Linked DNA regions of Homo sapiens: regions 2 and 3 are each linked to region 1. The links are contacts of gene promoters, found by promoter capture Hi-C in human tissues and cell types (Jung and others, 2019). All regions are on one chromosome and are shown on one strand. Each heading gives the region's core, a stretch centred on a gene start or on the middle of the fragment in contact. The rest is flanking DNA. Distances are from core to core; before and after follow the strand shown. Region 1 holds the start of EMC4 (ER membrane protein complex subunit 4). Region 2 overlaps KATNBL1 (katanin regulatory subunit B1 like 1). Region 3 has its middle 22 kb from the start of PGBD4.

Evidence for each region. Contacts are between HindIII fragments. The study calls those that stand out against the background at their distance.
Region 2: a contact is called between a fragment that was not itself captured here and the fragment with the promoter of EMC4 in region 1, in 2 of the 25 tissues and cell types used here (H1 embryonic stem cells and liver).
Region 3: a fragment that was not itself captured here is called in contact with the fragment with the promoter of EMC4 in region 1 in 2 of the 25 tissues and cell types used here (IMR-90 fibroblasts and hippocampus).

The regions. Positions count from the first base shown.
Region 1 is chr15:34,223,410-34,227,089 of GRCh38, reverse strand. EMC4 (ER membrane protein complex subunit 4) reads right to left here and starts at 2,074. Exons shown (of 5, transcript NM_016454.4): 1 at 1,890-2,074; 2 at 1,440-1,554. The coding sequence starts at 1,975. RefSeq lists an enhancer at 1,711-1,760. The HindIII fragment of the contact is 15,250 bases long and covers 1-3,534 here.
Region 2 is chr15:34,148,284-34,151,886 of GRCh38, reverse strand. KATNBL1 (katanin regulatory subunit B1 like 1) reads left to right here. Exons shown (of 10, transcript NM_024713.3): 5 at 3,137-3,255. Among named protein-coding and RNA genes, the nearest start is that of PGBD4, 48 kb to the right of the region's middle. The HindIII fragment of the contact is 4,691 bases long and covers 1-3,603 here.
Region 3 is chr15:34,122,394-34,126,149 of GRCh38, reverse strand. No RefSeq gene overlaps it. Among named protein-coding and RNA genes, the nearest start is that of PGBD4, 22 kb to the right of the region's middle. The HindIII fragment of the contact is 3,704 bases long and covers 392-3,756 here.

The sequences.
Region 1 (3,680 bases), core at 825-3,324:
TTTGACTACAATGATATTAAACTAGAAATAATTTTATAGTAACTAGAAAATCTCTTATGTTTGGGAATTAACAATGATACATGAAGAAATTATAATGGAAAATAGATTTATATGATAGCAAAAGTACCACATTTTAAAACTCGTGGGACACAGCTAGAGTTCTGAGAAATTTATAACCTTAAATACATACTACCAGGTTGCTGCAAAAGTAACTGCGGTTGTTGCCATTAAAAGTAATGGCAATGTGGCCGGGCGCGGTGCCTCACACCTGTAATCCCAGCACTTTGGGAGGCCGAGCTTGGTGGATCACCTGAGGTCAGGAGTTTCAGACCAGCCTGGCCAACGTGGTGAAACCCCGTCTCTACTAAAAATACAAAAAAATTAGCTGGACGTGGTGGTGGGTGCCTATAATCCCAGCTACTCGGGAGGCTGAGGCAGGAGAATTGCTTGACCCTGGGAGGCAGAGGTTGCAGTGAGCCAAGGTCGTGCTATTGCATTCCAGCCTCGGCGACAACAGCAAGACTGTCTCAAAAGAAAAGAAAAAAAGTAATGGCAGTCTAAAAATAAACTAAGCATCCATTTCAAGAAACTAGAAAAAAACCCAAGTATTTTTGAAAAGATTAATAAAATCAATACTGGTGATGGGTACAGTGACCTGTAAAAATAAATGAAAATAATTTTTAAAAAATCAATACTGGTGAGCCTGATGAAGAAAGGAGAGGAGACAAAATATTCAATATCAGGAATGAAAAAATGAACATCACAGATCTTGCATATATGGAAGTGATCATATTATGAACAACTTTATATCAATACATTTGAAATTTTAGGAAATGGATAAGTTTCTAGAAAAAATGTAACAAAATGACAGGAGAAATTAGAAATATAAATAGCCCCGGGCCGAGCGCGGTGGCTCATGCCTGCAATCCCAGCACTTTGGAAGGCCAAGGCGGATGGATCACCTGAGGTCAGGAGTTCAAGACCAGCCTGGCAAACATGGTGATACCCTGTCTGTACTAAAAATACAAAAATTAGCCGGGCTACTGCAGAAATCTAGATGAAGGATGGTGGCTTGGATTAGGATGAGAGGTGAACACAGGAAAAAGTAGTAGGTAAAGCCAACAGAGTATCCTGACAGTTGGATATGTGGTGTAAGGGAACCAGAGTAGAAAAAGGATCACTTCAACTGGAAGATGTTGCCACCAAAAGATAGTTTTCAACCTACTTTCTTATACCTTATGTTCCAAACATCTTCTATTTTTCAAATTATTAAGCACTTTTGTAGCTGATATATAAAATACCGAAATACCAGCCTCAAGCAGTTTAGTTTCCAAATCTTCAGGATAAGAGCTATCTACGTTAACTCCACCTAGGAGAAGAGGATGAGTGTGTAACTCAGGACTGGCCCATGGGCTACGGTAACATCTATACCTCTGTACCTTCTCCACCAGGATCCGGTCTGTCTCTTGCACGCTGGTATCAGGCACTTGCTTGTCCAAGTAACCGACTGGGTAGAGCGAGTCTCCCTGGCCACTGCCCCGGTCACTTCGACCCCTAAAAAACCAAACCAAGAAACTAAAGCTGCAACCTCCGATACTTCTTATCCCACATTTCCTGATCTACCAATCATAGGAATAAAGATCTTCAGATGCACCTACTCAGATTAGACCAAGCCCCCTCGTATGTTCCTCAGTCCTTTGACTTATCAGGAGGACTGATGTAAGCATTGTTTGAGCAGAGAAACTTCCACGGCAGAAAAGCCGCTACCTCCCCAGGTGATGTCTGTGTGCCACCCATCTTTTTCAGAGTTATGCCTGAGGGCTCAGGTCTCATTACTCTGGTGCAGTTCTGGGATGAACAGTGATGTACAGCTTGCCCAGGTGCCTCACCTGCTGCCTCCTCCAGGCCCGCTTAGCTCAATGGCCCACTTGAAGCGCCGGCCTCGGTTAGCCACCAGGCCCCCCTGGGCCGTCATGGCAACAGCTGCGTCCTATAGCCTCGATGCTTCTCAGTCCAAAGCGTACTCCACAACAGGCCCACCAGCGTTCTCCGCTTTGTCTCACTCTGCAAATGCACTTCCGGCGCGTGAATACGACGTCATTTCCGCCCTGGAAATTGGTGGTGCTGTGGGTTGAGGAGTCCGGGTTTGGATTTAGAAAAGCAGGGAGGAAAAAAAACCAGGCAAGACTTAGTGCTTCCTAAAGCCACTTCCGCGCGCTCCCCTTTTGAATGTCCTTGTTATGTGTTCCCTGACCTCTGAGGTGCACTTTATGGGGCTGAAGGAAAGCCCATACTGACTCAGCGTTAAGAATTGGTGGGCGGATCACCTGAAGTCAGGAGTTCGAGACCAGCCTGGCTAACATGGTGAAACCCCGTCTCTACTAAAAATACAAAATATTAGCCGGGCTTAGTGGCGGGCGCCTGTAATCCCAGCTACTTAGGAGGCTGAGGCAGGAGAATCGCTTGGATCCGGGAGCCGGAGGTTGCAGTGAACTGAGACCGAGCGATTGCACGCCAGCCTGGGCAGCAAGAGCGAAACTCTGTCTCAAAAAAAAAAAAAAGGAAGCCAAGAAAAGCTTCTTAACCTCCTACGCGCTCCCTGGAACAAAAGATTCAAATCCTGGGTTTAAATCCTAGCTTGACCTTGAGCGAGTTACTTAGTAGTTTCTGAGTATTGAATGTCCACTGTGTCATGTGTTTATTTCATTTCACTTGCACAGTAACCTTGCGAGGTAAACAGTTCTAACCACATTCTGCACAAAGGCAAGGCAGCATTGTGGGCATGGAAGGGGACATGGGCTCGGTATTCAGTTAGCCTGCGTTTGTTGTTGTTTGTTTTGGGTTTGTTTTTTGAGACAGGGTTTCACTCCGTTGCCGAGGCTGTAGTGCAGTGGCGCTATCACGGCTCACTGCAGCCTCGACTTCCCCGGCTCAAGCGATCTTCCCACCTGAGCGTTCCTTCCAACCTGAGCGTTCCGAGGAGCTAGGACCACAGGGCGCGCCACCACGCCCCAGTCTTGTTTTGTTTTGTTTTGTTTTGTTTTGACAGGGTTTCGCTATGTTGCTCAGGCTGCTCTCAAACTCTTGGGTTCAAGTGATTCTCCTGCCTTGGCCTCCCAAAATGTTGAGATTACAAAGGCATGGGCCACTGCACCCAGCAGATGGCCTCCTTTTGAATCCTGGTTTCACCACTTAATAATTGTATGACCTTGGGCAAGTTGAATTTGTTTCAGCCTCTTCATGTAAAAGTTGGATAATCTACCTACTTTCAAGGCTTGTGAGATTAGTGCCCACCACATATCTGGTGTTTGGTTTGTTTGTGTTTTTGTTCGAGACGGAGTTTTGCTTTTGTTGCCCAGGCTGGAGTGCAATGGCACTATCTCGGCTCACTGCAACCTCCGTCTCCCGGGTTCAAGCAATTCTCCTGCCTCAGCCTCCCGAGTACCAGGGATTACAGGCGCACGCCACCACGTCCAGCTAATTTTGTATTTTTAGTAGAGATGGGATTTCACCGTGTTGGTCAGGCTGGTTTCGAACTCCCGACCTCAGGTGATCTGCCTGCCTCGGCCTCCCAAAGTGCTAGGTTATGTGGTGTTTTTAATGATGTATCACATCATTACCAAATAACACCATTGATGTGTTTTTAATGACGTGTCATTAAATAATGTATGTCATTCTTT
Region 2 (3,603 bases), core at 888-3,387, 75 kb after region 1:
GGTTAAAGCATAGTTCAGGCAAACCTGCTGTGGTTTGCTGCTCTTCTGGCTCAAGCAAAACTGGTTAACAGACTCAAAAGCGTTTTTGAGAGTGATAGAAATATTCTAAAACTGGGCCTGGCCAACATGGCGAAACCTCATCTCTACTAGAAATACAAAAATTAGCTAGGCATGGTGGCACACTTTGGGAGGCCAAGGCAGGTGGTCAGGAGTTCAAGACTCGCCTGGCCAACATGGCAAAACCCCATCTTTACCAAAAATACAAAAATTACCCAGGCGTGGTGGTGCACGCCTGTAATGCCAGCTACTTGGGAGGCTGACGCTCAAGAATTGCTTGAACCCGGGAGGCAAAGGTTGCAGTGAGCCAAGATCTTGTCACTGCACTCCAGCCTGGGTTACAGAGTGAGATTCTGTCTCAAAAAAAAAAAAAAAAAAAAAAAAAAAAAAAAAGTAGGCAAAGGACACAATAGACACTTTTCAAAAGAAGACATACATGTAGGTGACAAGCATATGAAAAAATGCTCAGCCTAAATGCTAAACCTAAAATCACTCATCATTAGAGAAATGCAAATCAAAACCACAACAGGATATCATCTCATACCAGTTAGAATGGCTATTATTAAAAAGTCAAAAAATAATAGATTCTGGCAAGGTTGTGGAAAAAGAACACTTATACAATGCTGGTGACAATGTAATTTAGTTTCAGCCATTGTGAAAGCAGTGCGACAATTTTTCAAAGAACTTAAAACAATCTTATTATTGGATATATACCCAAAGGAATATAAAACATGCTACCATAAAGACACATGTATGCGTATGTTCATCACAGCACTGTTCACAATAGCAAAGACAAGGAATCAATCGAAATGCCCATCAATGGTAAACTGGATAAAGAAAATATGGTGCATATACACCATGGAATACTATATGCAGCCATAAAAAGAACAAGATCATGTCATTTGCAATCACGAGTGAACCTGGAGGCCATTATCCTAAGCGAACTAATACAGGAACAGAAAACCAAATGCTTCATGTTCTCAGTTGGAGTGGGAGCTAAACACTGTGCTAGTGCATATGGACACAAAGATGGGAACAACAGACATGAGGCCTACCTTAGGGTAGAGGGTGAGAAGAGAGTTAGGATCAAAAAACTACTTATCAGTTACTATGCTTATTACCTGTGTGATGAAATAATCTGTACACCAAACCCCCACAACATGCAAACTACCTATATAACAAACCTGCACATGTGCCCCTGAACATAAAATAAGTTTGTTTTGTTTTGTGTTTTGAAACAGGGTCTCTCGCTCTATCACCCAGGCTGGGGTGCAGTGGTGCAATCTTGGCTCACTGCAACCTTCACCTCCCAGGTTCAAGCAATCCTCCCACCTCAGTCTCCAGAGTAACTGGGACTACAGGCATGTGCCACCACACCCAGCTGATTTTTGTATTTCCTATAGCGACAGGGTTTTGCCATGCTCCCCAGGTTGGTCTCGAACTACTGAGCTGAAGCGATCAACCTGCCTCAGCCCCAGCCCAAAGTGCTGGGATTACAGGTGTGAGCCACTGTGCCTGGCCAGAATAAAAGTTCTTTTTAAAAAGTTTCAGTTGTGCATTTTAAAAACTACCCCAGTGAGACATCTTTCTCAAGAACCTCTTTTTACTTTACATTCTCATTTTCACTACTTTTCACTAAACCTTACATTTAACTAATAGGTTTAATGATTATTCTTGTTTCATACCTGTTTTCTTGATTGACCAGTACCTGCTCTAAAAACCTAAATCTGAAAGTGATACCATAACATCTTAGCCAAGTTAAAATACATATAACCATTGACCTAGCTGTTCCAATTGTAAAATTAATTTTAACAAAAGTGTCTGTACAAGTGCACATATTTACATATATCAGGATGTCCACTCATCAGTTTTGATAGGTAAAAACCAGAATCTAAATAAATTATGGTATGTAAAGACTAGAGAATATGCTATTGTTTTTTGTTGTTGTTTTTAAGAGATGAGGTCTCACTGTCTCACTGTCTTTCCCAGGCTGGACTCAAACTCCTGAGCTCAAGTGGTTCTCCCACCTCAGGTTCCCAAGTAGCTGGGACTGTAGGCACACAGCACTATGCCAGGCTATGCTGTTGTTCTTTAAAAGTAAAGTTGGGCTTGGTGTGGCGGCTCATGCCTGTAATCCCAGCACTTGGGAGGCCAAGGCAGGCGGATCATGTGAGGTCAGGAGTTGGAGACCAGCTTGGCCAACATGGCAAAACCCCATCTCTACTAAAAATAGGAAAATTAGTTGGGTGTTGTGTTGGGTGCCTGTAATCCCAGCTACTCGGGGAGGGTGAGGCAGGAGAATTACTTGAGCTTGGGAGGCGGAGGTTGCAGTGAGCTGAGATTGCACCACTGCACTCCAGCCTAGGCAACAGAGCAAGACCCTGTCTCCAAAAAAAAAAAAGCTTGATCTGTGTTTTGACATTGAAAAATGTTCATATAGGTAAAAAAGCAAGGTTTTGAACAATATAGGTAATTAATTTTTCAGAGTGTTTATATGTGTACTTAATTTGTCTTTGTCTAGAAAATGGTCTGGAAAGATACATATCAGTCTGTTAACTGTGATTATTTCTGCGGAGTGATATTGGATGTTTTTGTGGGCAGGCAGAGAGTTTTTACTTTTTATCTTACATAGTTCTGTGTTAAACACATTAGAACAGGAAAATGACACTTCATTACTTAACAATAAATAGATAAATTTAAATGATACTACAACACTTGTCAAAAACTGAGTTTTTGTGATTCTCCTGCCATTCAGTTGGTAATGACTAGCCTACATGTTTACATTTTTCTTTTATCCATGTTATAAATTAAGTCCTAGTTTATAGGTCAGCTAAAAATAATTTTATAAATTATTGGGTTTTAAAAGAAAAATGGTAGCTAGTGAAAAGTATAAATGGGTCTTAAATTTGTTCAGATCATTTGTTTACTGTGGTCAACTGCAGTATTCCTTTTTGTGGGCTAGTAAAAGGAGTTACTTTTGCATGATTTTTAACTATGTCTACCAGAACGATTTAATAAAAAAATAGTTTCATACCCTGTTTCAGTGTGCTTTTTAACAAATCAGATTATTGCCTTTCAGGTTTCTCAGGACCATGAAACAATGGCCCAAGTTTTGTTCAGCAGGAATATGAGATTGAATGTAGCTTTAACTTTCTGGAGAAAGAGAAGTATAAGTGAACTTGTAGCTTATTTGTTGAGGTAAGTGTGACCTTTTATCCTCTTTGTTCAATCACTTTTTTTCTGAGACAAGTTCTTGCTTTGTCATCCAAGTTGGAGTACAGTGGCACAATCATGGCTCACTGCAGCCTCAACCTGCTGAGTTCAAGCAGCCCTCCCACCTCAGCCTCCTGAGTAGCTGAGAGTACAGGTGCACATCACCACACCTGGCTATTTTTTAAAAAAATTTTTTGGAAGACATGAGGTCTTATGTTTCCCGGGCTGGTCTCGAACTCCTGAGCTCAGGTGAACCTTCTTCATTATTCTAAACTGCCTATATGTAGCTTCAGTAGAGACAGTATGGCTTAAATTACATTCCTCACCCATCTA
Region 3 (3,756 bases), core at 994-3,493, 100 kb after region 1:
ACTTCAGTCTGGAGGAATCTGGGAAAACATGATCTTTGCACTTAGGCTAGTAGTTCAGGCAATATATATCAAATACCAAATTTGTTCAAATACTTTATAGGCTTTCTGTGGACAGAATTCCTTTATTGTTGTCTACTAATTGAATAGTTTTCTTACTCACATTGACGAAACTGCTGTGTTCCTTATATTTTACAGTTAGTTGGGAATAGATAGGCTTTAACAGGATACAGGGAGGAAGCATCAATAGCTAGCATAGAAACCGAAGAGCCCATCACTCTTCAACTTTACACAGAATCTGCTCAGATTTAATGACATCAACTTACTGCTGCTAGTGACCTAACTGGAACTTCCTGGCACCTTGTATAGTTTTAGTAATTTCAGAAATTACTGTATGTTACTTTTTTTTTTTTTAAGAGGCAGGGTCTCTCTGTCACCCAGGCTGGAGTGCCCTGATGTAATCATAGCTCATAGCTCACTGCAGCTCGAACTCCTGGGCTCACGGGATCCTTCAGCCTCAGCCTCCTGAGTAGCAGGGACTGCCCAGCTAATATTTCTTTTGTTTTGTAGAGACAGGGTCTCGTTATGTTGCCCAGGCTGGTCTCGAGCTCCTGGACTCAAGCAATCTTCCTGCCTTGGCCTCCCAAAGTGCTGAGATTACCATTGTGAGCCACTGTGCCTGGCCACTAGCTTCTTCTTGTTCCTGGCTTTGCTTTCTACCCTCATCTCATCTCAACATCACACACATACATACTCCACCGTATGCCAGGGTACTCTTGGGCCATTTGGTTGGACATACCCTGCAATTTCAGTCCAGGCCTTCAAACTTACTGTTTTTCTCTGCGGAGAACACTCACTCCTGTCTCTGCCTTTTTCCCTTCATCCATCCTCCCACCTTCTCTGAAAATAACTCTTTCTTGAATCTTCAAGTCTTAGCTTGTTCTTCTCTTCAAATTTTTGTGTTGGGTGCCCCTTCTTTGTGCTCTGAGTGTATCCTGTTCTTCCCCCATCATGGTACATAAGTATAATTGGCTATACTAAATTTTACTTATTTACCTGTCAGTAGCCTCTTAGGTAGGATCAATGTTTGTCTAACTCACCATTGTAACTCCAGCTCCCTGCTCTGTGCAACCTAAATATAATAAGAAATGTTCAATAAAAATTTGTTGAATAAATGAATAAAGGAACAAAGAGCTACTGGGTGTTTAAAATAAACTAGAATATTCAGACGAGACCCAGGTGCCTGTTCCTATCAGTCATTCATCCTTCTTGGCTGTAGCCACCAACCAGCACCTGTTTTTCTATCAAGAGAAGATTCATTCCGTAATAGAACTCCTGTAACAGGACCCTGCCATGCTGTCAATGAGCATATCTGCAAACCCTCTGTTACTGCCATTAGGATTCACTCCCTCACACATGGATCATTAATTGTAAGACTGCATATTTTGTCGCAGAATTAATGTAAGGTACTTATTCTGTATGGGTACCTAGCACAGTACGCTTTACAGTTGCATTGTTCCATAGATGTGTGCTGATAATTATAAACCCAGGGGACCTCCAGCAGCCCATCAGGATCTCTGCCAGTAGATCTTGCATGAAAGCCATTTTTCTCACCATATTGGTTATGCCTCTGACCAGCTCCAAGAGAAGGGCAAAAGTAGGGAGCTGACCGACTCTATCATCAGCACTGTCCATCTCTGTTCAGGGACTTCACTGCTGACTTCTGGGACAGTTTCTGCCCTCGCCTCACCCCTACCCCTACCCATTTGGAATCATAAAGTATCTAGGAAATAAAAAGTTGTTCTTACAGATAAAAATTAGGGACCTTTGAGAACCAGAGTTGCATAAGTCTAGGATAGGGCAATTGAATTTCTCCACTGGAAATGTAGTTGAAGATTCTTTATCTGAAAAATTGTTCATTTTAATGTAATAGGCCAGAGCACTATAACTAAAAAAACTGTGGTTAATTCTGCTTGCTGATTACTATTATCACTTTTCGGTCTGGTATTATAGACATATGCCTTCATCACCATAAGACTATTTTTATTTTTAAAAAGCATTCTGGTTTTGAGGGATAACTTTGGCTTAGGATATAAAACCAGTCTCCTAAATCTTGGATTTCCATAGCTTGTGACTGCTGTGTTGCCTAGAATATGAAACAGGTGGCCATCTCATGCCATTCATTTTCTTCTGTAAAATGATCTCCCTATGTGATATGGAAGTATTTTTGTAAGTGATATAAACACATTAAGAATGGAAGAGACTAAATATAATTACTTACTTTAAAATAGATAAAACATTTGTTTGTAGTGTGTATAATATACACACTTGTATGTTTCACCCTTTCCAGAACAAATATATGGTCACAGAAAGCTTAATATGATCATATTAAGTTGATCCTGTTTCTAATCCTGCATTAATCACAGCAAGGTCACACTGAAATCATCTAGTAATTAGTCAACATAATAATAATAGTTCCTTTTTTTTTTTTTTTTTTGAGACAAGGTTTCACTCTTGTTGCCCAGGCTGGATAATGGTGCGATCTCAGCTTACTTCAACCTCCACTTCCCGGGTTCAAGTGATTCTCCTGCCTAAGCCTCCCAGGTAGCTGGGATTATAGGCACCTGCCACCACGCCTGGCTAATTTTTGTATTTTTAATAGAGATGGGGTTTCACCATGTTGGCCAGGCTGTTCTCGAACTCCTGACCTCATGATTCGCCTGCCTCGGCCTCCCAAAGTGCTGGGATTACAGTTGTGAGCCACCACGCCTGGCCAATAGTTCCATTTATTGATTGCTTTTCACTTGCCTATAGCTGTGGTAGGTGCCTTATTTACATTCTCTCATTTAATCCTCATACAATCCTGGGAGATAAATAAGTACTCTAGTTCCTTTTTCCACATGCAGAAACTAAGGCTCAACATGAAGCCACTTGGACAAGGTCTCACTGCTAGTAATTGACACAGCCAGGATTCAAACCCTGGTTTGACCCCATATCCTGTGTGTGTGTTCTTAACCCCTGCACTGTTTTAACTGTTGAGTCAAAGCTAGACAGAAATTTGTTAGTATCGTGATAAATGGACATACCATTTCTGCTTCTGGAAAGTCGCTAATGACTAATAGCCACAAAGGAAGCATTATGCTTTGTTTTCTAAGAGCTTTACTAGACTACTTATTTAATGCAAATGCTATTCCCCTGAGATAGGCCAGCAGCTCTCAAACTTGCGGCACATCGGAATGACATCACAAGCTTGTAAACATGGAACTGCCCAGGGCCCCATTCCAGACCAACCGAGTTAGAATCTCCAGGGGTGGGGCCCAGGCATCTGATGTTTATTACACTCCCCGGGTGATTCTCACACACACATAAGTTTGAGAATCATTGAGGTCTGTGAGTGGTAGGGTTTTGTTATTGTTTTAGGAATTACAATGTTCAGGTTTGTCAGTTTAGTCAGGGCCTCACAGGAAGTTTGGGAATAGCAAAATTATAACTAACAAATTATAAATCATCTTGTCTAATTTTATAGTATAATTGTCAATTGGCAACATCTGCAGTATGACCTATTAAAATGGAACTCATTGAATTTTTATTTTTTTCTCATTGAAAGATTCTGTATCCACAGAAATGAAAAAAAAAAATCCTAAAATGTACATGGAATCACAGAAGACCCCAAATAGCCAAAGTTATACTAAGCAAAAAGACCAAAACTGGAGGAATCACATTATCTGACTTCAAATTGTACTACAGAGCTGTAGTAAT